Linked DNA regions of Homo sapiens: region 2 is linked to region 1. Evidence: promoter capture Hi-C in human tissues and cell types (Jung and others, 2019). All regions are on one chromosome and are shown on one strand. The core of a region is centred on a gene start or on the middle of the fragment in contact, and the rest is flanking DNA. Distances in the headings are between cores, read along the strand shown. Region 1 holds the start of R3HDML (R3H domain containing like). Region 2 overlaps HNF4A (hepatocyte nuclear factor 4 alpha).

Region 1 (3,883 bases), core at 745-3,244:
TGTACTAAGGCTCCACAAATGTTCACTCATTTCATCTTCGCAGTAATGCTACAAGGTAGGCACCGCTATTTCTCCCATTTTACAGATGAGGCACACAATGGTTGAGTAACGTGCCCAACACCTAGTTAGTGAGGGGGTGGGATAAGGGAAATTTGAACCCAGATTTGTGGGCTTAATTCATTTGCTAATGAATAGGCTGTGTTTGAGTGGCATCATAACGAACATCACCCTAGGCTTTTTTCCTTATGCATCTATATTTGGTTTGGTTAGAAAATGGCATCTTTGGCTGATACAAAAAAATTAGCCAAGTATGGTGGTGCGTGCCCGTGGCCCCAGCTATTCAGGAGGCTGAGATGGGAGGATCACCTGAGCCTGGGAGGTGGAGGTTGCAGTGAGCCGAGATTGTGCCACTGCACTCCAGCCTGGACGACAGAGCGAGACTCTGTCTCAAAAGAAAAAAAAAGAAAGACAGCCTGTCCAATATGGTGAAACCCCATCCCTACTAAAAAATACAAAAATTAGCCAGGTGTGGTGGTGTGCACCTGTAGCCCCAGCTACTTAGGAGGCTGAGGCAGGAGAATCGAGGTTGCAGTGAGCCGAGATTGCGCCACTGCACTCCAGCCTGGGCGACAAAGTGAGACAAAAAACAGAAAGAAAAAAAAAAGGAAAGGAAAAGGAAAAGGCATCCTTTTAGATACTAACCAGGCCTGGGGTCAGATCTGGACTTAAATCCTGGCGTGATTGCAGACTGGCTGGCTTGACTTTGGGCTTGTTCTTTCTCCTCTCTGGGGCTCAGTTTCCTCATCTATGAAATGGGGAGCTATAGTACCTGCTTCTGAAGGTTGGCTGGGCTTTTGTGTAAAGCACTCAGCCCTGGGCCTGGCACATAGCAGGGGCTCACTAGATGGGCCATATTAACTGTCTGCTCCAAGGCTGGAGGGTGTTATAGGGAAAACAGTCAGAAAATACTCTCCAGATGCAAGGTGGCCTTAATATGTCAGGATGTGGAAGGCAGAGAGAAGCCTCGGGGTCTGGGATCTCCCATAGGGGATGAGTATTTTTTCCTGGAATCCCTGCCCTGTTGCCACATCACTACCCTGACCATTTGCCCAGCCCAGCCCTACATGCTTCAGGTGAAAGCAGAGAGAGAGGGGCGGGAGAGAAAAGCCCATCAAGCAGCAGGCGGAGCCTCCCTGCAGGAGTCTGGCCTGGCTGGAAGGGGAGGGGGCTGTGGGGCCAGGGACGTCAGATGCCAACAGCACCAGGGGACCGTTAAAGTTGCTGCGCCGCCAGGTGGGCCAGGGTGTCTGCAGAGGTCCCCGGCCTCCTGGGCTGCCGCCTGCCACCGCTTGGGCTGCCCGTCCTGGGTACGCACCGTTGGAGCCTCCTGCCTGGTCTCTCGTGCTTCTCTGTCTCTTCTCTAAGTCGATTTTTCGCTCTTTCTTCTGTTTGTGCCCCTCTCTCTGTCTATTTCTGTCCTCCCCCAGCCACATTGTTGCCTCTCTCTCATTCTCTCTTATCTCTTTACCTTTCTATTTCTCATTCTTTTTTCTCTGTAACTCTTTTTTTCTGTCCCCTTTTTGGTCTCTCTTTTTTCTCTGCCTCTTTCATTCTCTGCCATTGGGTTTTCTCTGTGTCTCATTCTCAATTCCTAAATTGCAGCAAAGCAGGGACAAAAGGACCTTGCAATATGACTTGGGGTAAGGTGGGCCCTGCCCTCCGAGGGCATTGACTGAGCCCGCTCCAGCAGGATTGGTGAAGAGGATGTCTAGACTGGAGAGGGCTGCTGTCTGTCTCCTGGGCTGGAGGGACAGAGCACTGGCTTTGAAGTGGTGGCACCATCTCACCCCAGGGCCATGTCTGGATTAGCCACTGTCTGGGCATTTCTTCCCCTTGCCCAACCCACTCAGTCCCCTGGGGTGGAAAGGAAGGGGTGCTGGGCATCTGGACCAGAGCTGCATCTGGAGGTCTTTGCCAAGTTCCCAGGAGGCAGCATCCTCTGGGTCGGCACTGTTGGAGAACGCTCAGGGTCTGGTGCTCTCGTGCCTGCCCCTTCCAGGCAGCCGGCTCTGATTGCACAAGGCAGACCTGTGACTCCTCCATCCAGCTATGCCCCTGCTGCCCAGCACCGTGGGCCTGGCAGGCCTGCTCTTCTGGGCTGGCCAGGCAGTGAACGCCTTGATAATGCCTAATGCTACCCCAGCCCCGGCCCAGCCCGAGAGCACGGCTATGCGGCTCCTGAGTGGCCTGGAGGTGCCCAGGTACCGCCGGAAGCGCCACATCTCTGTGAGAGACATGAATGCCTTACTGGATTATCACAACCACATCCGGGCCAGTGTGTACCCACCTGCCGCCAACATGGAATACATGGTGAGTCCCCGTACCTGCCCCCCACCCCCCGCAGTGTCCCTTCCGGCAAACGCAGCCGGACTCATCTTGGCCTAGAATGACTGGCTTTGAAGAGCTGGACCACTTGCCTGCCTGGCCCCACTAGCCAGTATCTGGGTGTCGACCTGTGGAAAGGGCAGGAGTTAATCTGCCCATTTTACAGATGAGGAAACCAAGAAGGTTGCACAGCTGTTCCAGTGAGTCAGGCATGTGACTACTATGTAAGGAGCACCACTGTGCGCCAGGCACTGCACGTGAGTATCATCTCCATTTTCCAGAGGAAGAAACTGAGACTCAGAGAATTAATTTGCCCAGCCAGGATTTCAATCCAGGTCTGCCTGCTGCCACCTGGCACCATCACAACTGTAACCATCACAATCCCCTACCCAAGAATTTTGGCTCCCCACACTGGGGACCTGCATGGGGTGCGTGGCTGGTGCTTTCTATGCTATTGTCTCTTTACCCTAAGGTCTTGACTGACACACCCACAGCATCCTCCACAAGCCCCTGGAGGCAGGCTTGGAGCAGTGGGGACAGGTACTGGGGAATCTCAGGCTGAGGAAAACCAACAGCTGACCAGCAGAGGAAGCTGGGATGTCTCCCCTCAAAGAGGCAGGGCTGGTGGCTCTCACTCCAGCCCCCAAGAAGTCAAAGGAGGGCACCAACCTTTTGCTTACAGCTCCTCCCCCAGGGCCACTGTCCAAAACCAGCCTAGAGGGATGGGTTTCCAGCCCACCCAGAGATGTCTTTAGGGAAAGAGTTTGCCAGTCTGCCCCCTGAAAGACCAACACATGCCACTCGATAGCCTGAAAACTTAACTTTTTCATCGTATCCATTGACTTATACTTGGAGTACACTTGCAGCCAGGCACCGTGCTAAGCCTTGTGGATACTGCTGGTAACAGAATAGACAAGGCCCCTTCCTTCACGAAGGTGACATTTTAGTGGGAATAAGAGAAAACAAGCATGAACAACAAGATATTAATGTACATAAGATAACGTGAGGAGGCAATACAGTGTTGGGAGGGGCGGGAATAAGAGCCGGGATGGCAGGCAGCTAGAGTGCAGGGGAGTCATTGACTTGTTCATTCATTCGTTAGCACCTAGAATGCCCTCCATTTTTCAAACAAATGGCACATTTATTGAGCACCCGTTGTGCGTGTGTGGCACCTGCCCCAACAGGTGTTTAATGATTGCAGGCGGCATGGAGCAGAGAGGGTTCAATATCTCACCAGGGACTCCAGGGAGGGCCTGAACATGTAGGTTTGATGTTTAGCCTGCTCCTTCCCTCACTTTACCCCTTTGTAGCATGAGGGAAGCACTCCTCTGCTCTCCCTAAAAGACTGAGCCAGAGAGCCGGGCGCAGTGGCTCACGCCAGTAATCCCAGCACTTTGGGAGGCCGAGGTGGGTGAATCACCTGAGGTCAGGAGTTCCAGACCAGCCTGGCCAACATGGTGAAACCCAGTCTGTACTAAAAATACAAAAATTAGCTGGG
Region 2 (3,781 bases), core at 1,209-3,708, 56 kb after region 1:
ATCTCTTATCTCTCTCATTTTGCAGTTGGGGAAACTGAGGCACGGAGAGGGAAAATGACTTGCCCAAAGCCAGTGAGTCAGCAAACTGAAGCAGGTCAAGAATCCAGAGGGAACCCTGAAGTTCCCTGAGCAGAAAACAATCGGTTAAAATCTCATTGCCACTTCTGCCTTGAACTCCAAATCCTCCTTCCTGAGCTCCAGGCATGGGGTCCCCTCCATCCCCTCACCCAGAGCTTGTCTCATCGGCCATGCTTCCCTCCCTGCCTCTCATCCTCCTCCTGACTTCCCCTGCCACCCGCACCACCTGAGGCTGGCAGAGAGTTCCTGGCAGGTTCTCCAGTGCTGACGGGCACAGCCACCAGGCCCCCACTATTCCATCCAGGGGACACCTTCCCACTGGGTCCCTATCTGGATGACTTGGGACATTCTTTGTTCTACACTTCATCCTCTCTTTGGGATTTCTGAGTCCAGACACAGTGAGGACCCCGACAGCCCCCCTCCTCACCTCTTGTCCTGGGAAGGCCAGGCCTGCATGGCAGAGATGTAACCAGACTCCAAAGCTTTCTGGGCCGGGCTTCATGGAAGGCCGTATCGGTGCAGGGGCATAAACACAAGCTCTGGAGCCAGGTAGAGATAGTTCTAACACCATTGCCTTGGCTCACTGGGAAAATGATGTTTCTTCTCTGAGCCTCAGTTTCCTCACCTGTGATGGGAGACGAGAACCCTTCCATCCTCAAAGCTTGCTCTCAGCTGCTATGGAAGCATCTCCAGGTTGTGATATTAAATGAACCAAACAAGATACAGAACAGTGTAAGAGCAGAGGCTACTCATGTATGATCTTACATGCTATCTGGTCTGTATAAAGAAACCTTGGCAGATACATCTGTAAGGGATGTGGTTCCCCATAGTGAGGAAGTCAAGGAGAACAGGTGAACAGGAGACAGCTGGAAGCAAGACTTCTCAATTTACACCTTTTATGTTTTGATTCTGAACCATGCGAATGTAGCACCAATTCAAAACTAAATGTAAAGATGTTCACAAATTAAGTAAAATATTAAATAATAATAATAACACATACCTCAATAATATGACCGGTGTGCAGTCAAGATTTAGGCCCAGGTACTAGAAATTGACTCAAAGCAACAGAGGAGGCCTGTCTTCAAGTCACCGAATCCTTGACCTAGAAAGGCCCTTTATTTTGTCAACGTCAAATTGCCCATAACAACAATAATAGTCTTGGTAGCAAGAATCAGGAGCTCCCTACTTGGGGAACATGGTGCCAAGCACTGTCTGAACATTATCTCATTTAATTGGCATTTTGATTTTGTGAGGAAACGATCATCATTCCCTCTTTACAGATGGGAAAACTGAGCCTCGCTGAGGTTTTGACTAGTAAGTTGTAGTAAGTGATAGAACTTGATGCCATCGAAGGCTTTCCAGGTTCAAATTTGAAGCCCCCCTACAGTGGGTCTCAATATTGGCTGCACAAAAATATAGACGCCTGGCACCTCCCCACCCCTACCCCAAGATTCGATCATTGATCTGTGATAGGGACTGGGCATCTGTCTTTAATTTTAAAAAATCTTTTTAAAAAATAGACATAGGGTCTCACTATGTTGCCCAGGCTGGTCTCAAACTCCTGGGTTCAAGTAAACCTCCCATCTCAGCCTCCCAAAGTGCTAGGATTATAGGTGTAAGCCACCATGTTCGGCCAACATCTGTATATTTTAAAGGTTTCAGATGATTCTATTTCATCTTCAGAGATGAGTCTCTGCTTTGTTAGACAAAACTTCTCCAATGGGAAACCAAGGCCAGGGAGGGAAATGACCTTGCCCAAGGACACACAGTGGCTGGAACCAGAGCTGGGGCAGGACACCCAGCAGCTTACATGAAGCCCTAGGGCAAATAAGAAAAAGGCACCCCACTCTGGGCAGGCAGAGCTCCATGGGCACTTCGCTTGGCAAGTGGAACAAGGGCTGGGTTTCCATCCCTACCTGCCCTCTTGGCTGGAGAACCTTTGTGCAGTGAGCAACCTGCACAACTGTACAGGGCAGTAACTCTGATCTGAGCCTCAGGACTTCCAAACACTTCACCTTAGTGACCTGGCAAATCCCTGGGGCCCCTCAGAACAAGAGTATGGGGAGACCAAGGGTGGCTTCTGGGATGTGGGCTCAGCCCTCACTCCCCAAACCAGAGTCTGGGTCAGGCAGGGGCTCCCATCAGCCTTCAGGCCCCACAAGGGCCGGGAAGGCCGCATCTAATTCCCAAGGTCACCCCTGCAGATAAATTCAGGAACATAAACAGGAGGGATGAACATAAACAGGAGGACAGCAACACCCTCAGCCCAGATGTCATAAGCCACCTGGCAGGAGGCAGCCTGCGGAGAAGCTCCACCCACACAGATCCAAGTCCTCCTGGCTTCCTTCCTGATCATTCTCCAGACCATACTCTCTGCCCTACCTCCGGAGCCTTACAGTCAGCATCTCCCACAGTGCCCTGCTCTCTGCCCTTCTCCTGGCCATCTCTCACTGGCATCCCTGGAAGGGAAGGGTAGCCCTGGAGTTAGAGGCACAGACTCTAGAGACAGACTGCCCAAGTTCCAATTCCACTTCTTGTTTCTCATCAGCTGTGTGAGCATGGGTATATGGCTCAACCTCCCTGTGCCTCTGGTGTGTAAAAAATTGGTGAAAACATTGCCTACCTCCCAGAGTGGCTGGGAGGATCAAGGAAGTAACACATGCAAAGCTCCTAAAACAGCTGCATATCCAGTGGCCATGATGATCAATGTGTATATTTTGCTTCATTTCATTTTCATGACAACCCTGGAAGTTAAGTATTATAATTCCCAATTTACAGGTGAAGAAACTGAGGCTCAGAGAGGTGGAGAGAGTCAGGGCAGGGCTCTACATCTTTTTTTGTGATAGGGACTGGGCATCTGTCTTTAATTTTAAAAAATCTTTTTAAAAAATAGACACAGGGTCTCACTATGTTGCCCAGGCTGGTCTCAAACTCTTGGGCTCAAGTAATCCTCCCATCTCAGCCTCCCAAAGTGCTGATGCCTCCAGAGACAGGACGTGGCTGAGATGGATTATAACGTAGTCTCCGGTTTGCAGTGCCTGGCTGCTGGTCATATCCTCACAGGGCCCATGGGACACAGAGCCAGGTGCATTCCCCTGACTTGGGTCTTCCAATGGCTCTCAGGCACCTCTCTGCTTCCAGCCAGCCCTGGGAGGAGGGGGAGAACGGCATGGCAAGGCGTTTGCAGAGCCGTCTTGTTCACCAATGTCTTTCAAGACATTGCCCGGGTCCACAGAGAGCCCACCATTCATTCCCATGCTGGCTGGAGCCCCTGAATACCCGAGGTGACCTTCTGTCCTTGGACAAGTCACTTCCCCCTCTGATCTCCATCTCCCCATCTGTGCAATGAGGGGATGGGGCTGAATCAGTGGTTTTCCAACCCTCAAATAAAATATTAAGACTACATGTAAAAGGGAGTCGCTGGTTGAAGCTGGGCCTGTGGATGCATACCCTTGGCTCCTGGGAGCCTCGGAACCCAGCTTGAAAAACCCCAGCCCACATCCTCCTAAAGATTCTCCTGGCTCTGACACTGCAGAGTTCTAGAACCCCAAGCTCAAAGCTGCCGCTTCCCATCCCTGTTTGGAAAGCTCTCCCCCAGCTGCCTTTATCTCTCTTTGGTAACAGAGCAAATTTGCTCAGGACCCAGCACAGGGGGAACAAGCAGACTGTTGACTCTTGAGCAAAGCCTCTTCTTTGGAGAGCA

The links. The method cuts DNA at HindIII sites, captures the fragments that hold promoters and counts their contacts. A contact is called where the count stands out against the background at its distance.
Region 2: a contact is called between a fragment that was not itself captured here and the fragment with the promoter of R3HDML in region 1, in 1 of the 25 tissues and cell types used here (pancreas).

The regions. Positions count from the first base shown.
Region 1 is chr20:44,335,049-44,338,931 of GRCh38, forward strand. R3HDML (R3H domain containing like) reads left to right here and starts at 1,995. Exons shown (of 5, transcript NM_178491.4): 1 at 1,995-2,370. The coding sequence starts at 2,110. RefSeq lists an enhancer at 677-1,666. The HindIII fragment of the contact is 19,264 bases long and covers 1-3,883 here.
Region 2 is chr20:44,390,931-44,394,711 of GRCh38, forward strand. The region is part of intron 1 of HNF4A (hepatocyte nuclear factor 4 alpha); the gene reads left to right. All of the region lies in intron 1 of HNF4A-AS1 (HNF4A antisense RNA 1), which reads right to left. Among named protein-coding and RNA genes, the nearest start is that of HNF4A-AS1, 2.8 kb to the right of the region's middle. The HindIII fragment of the contact is 5,512 bases long and covers 1-3,781 here.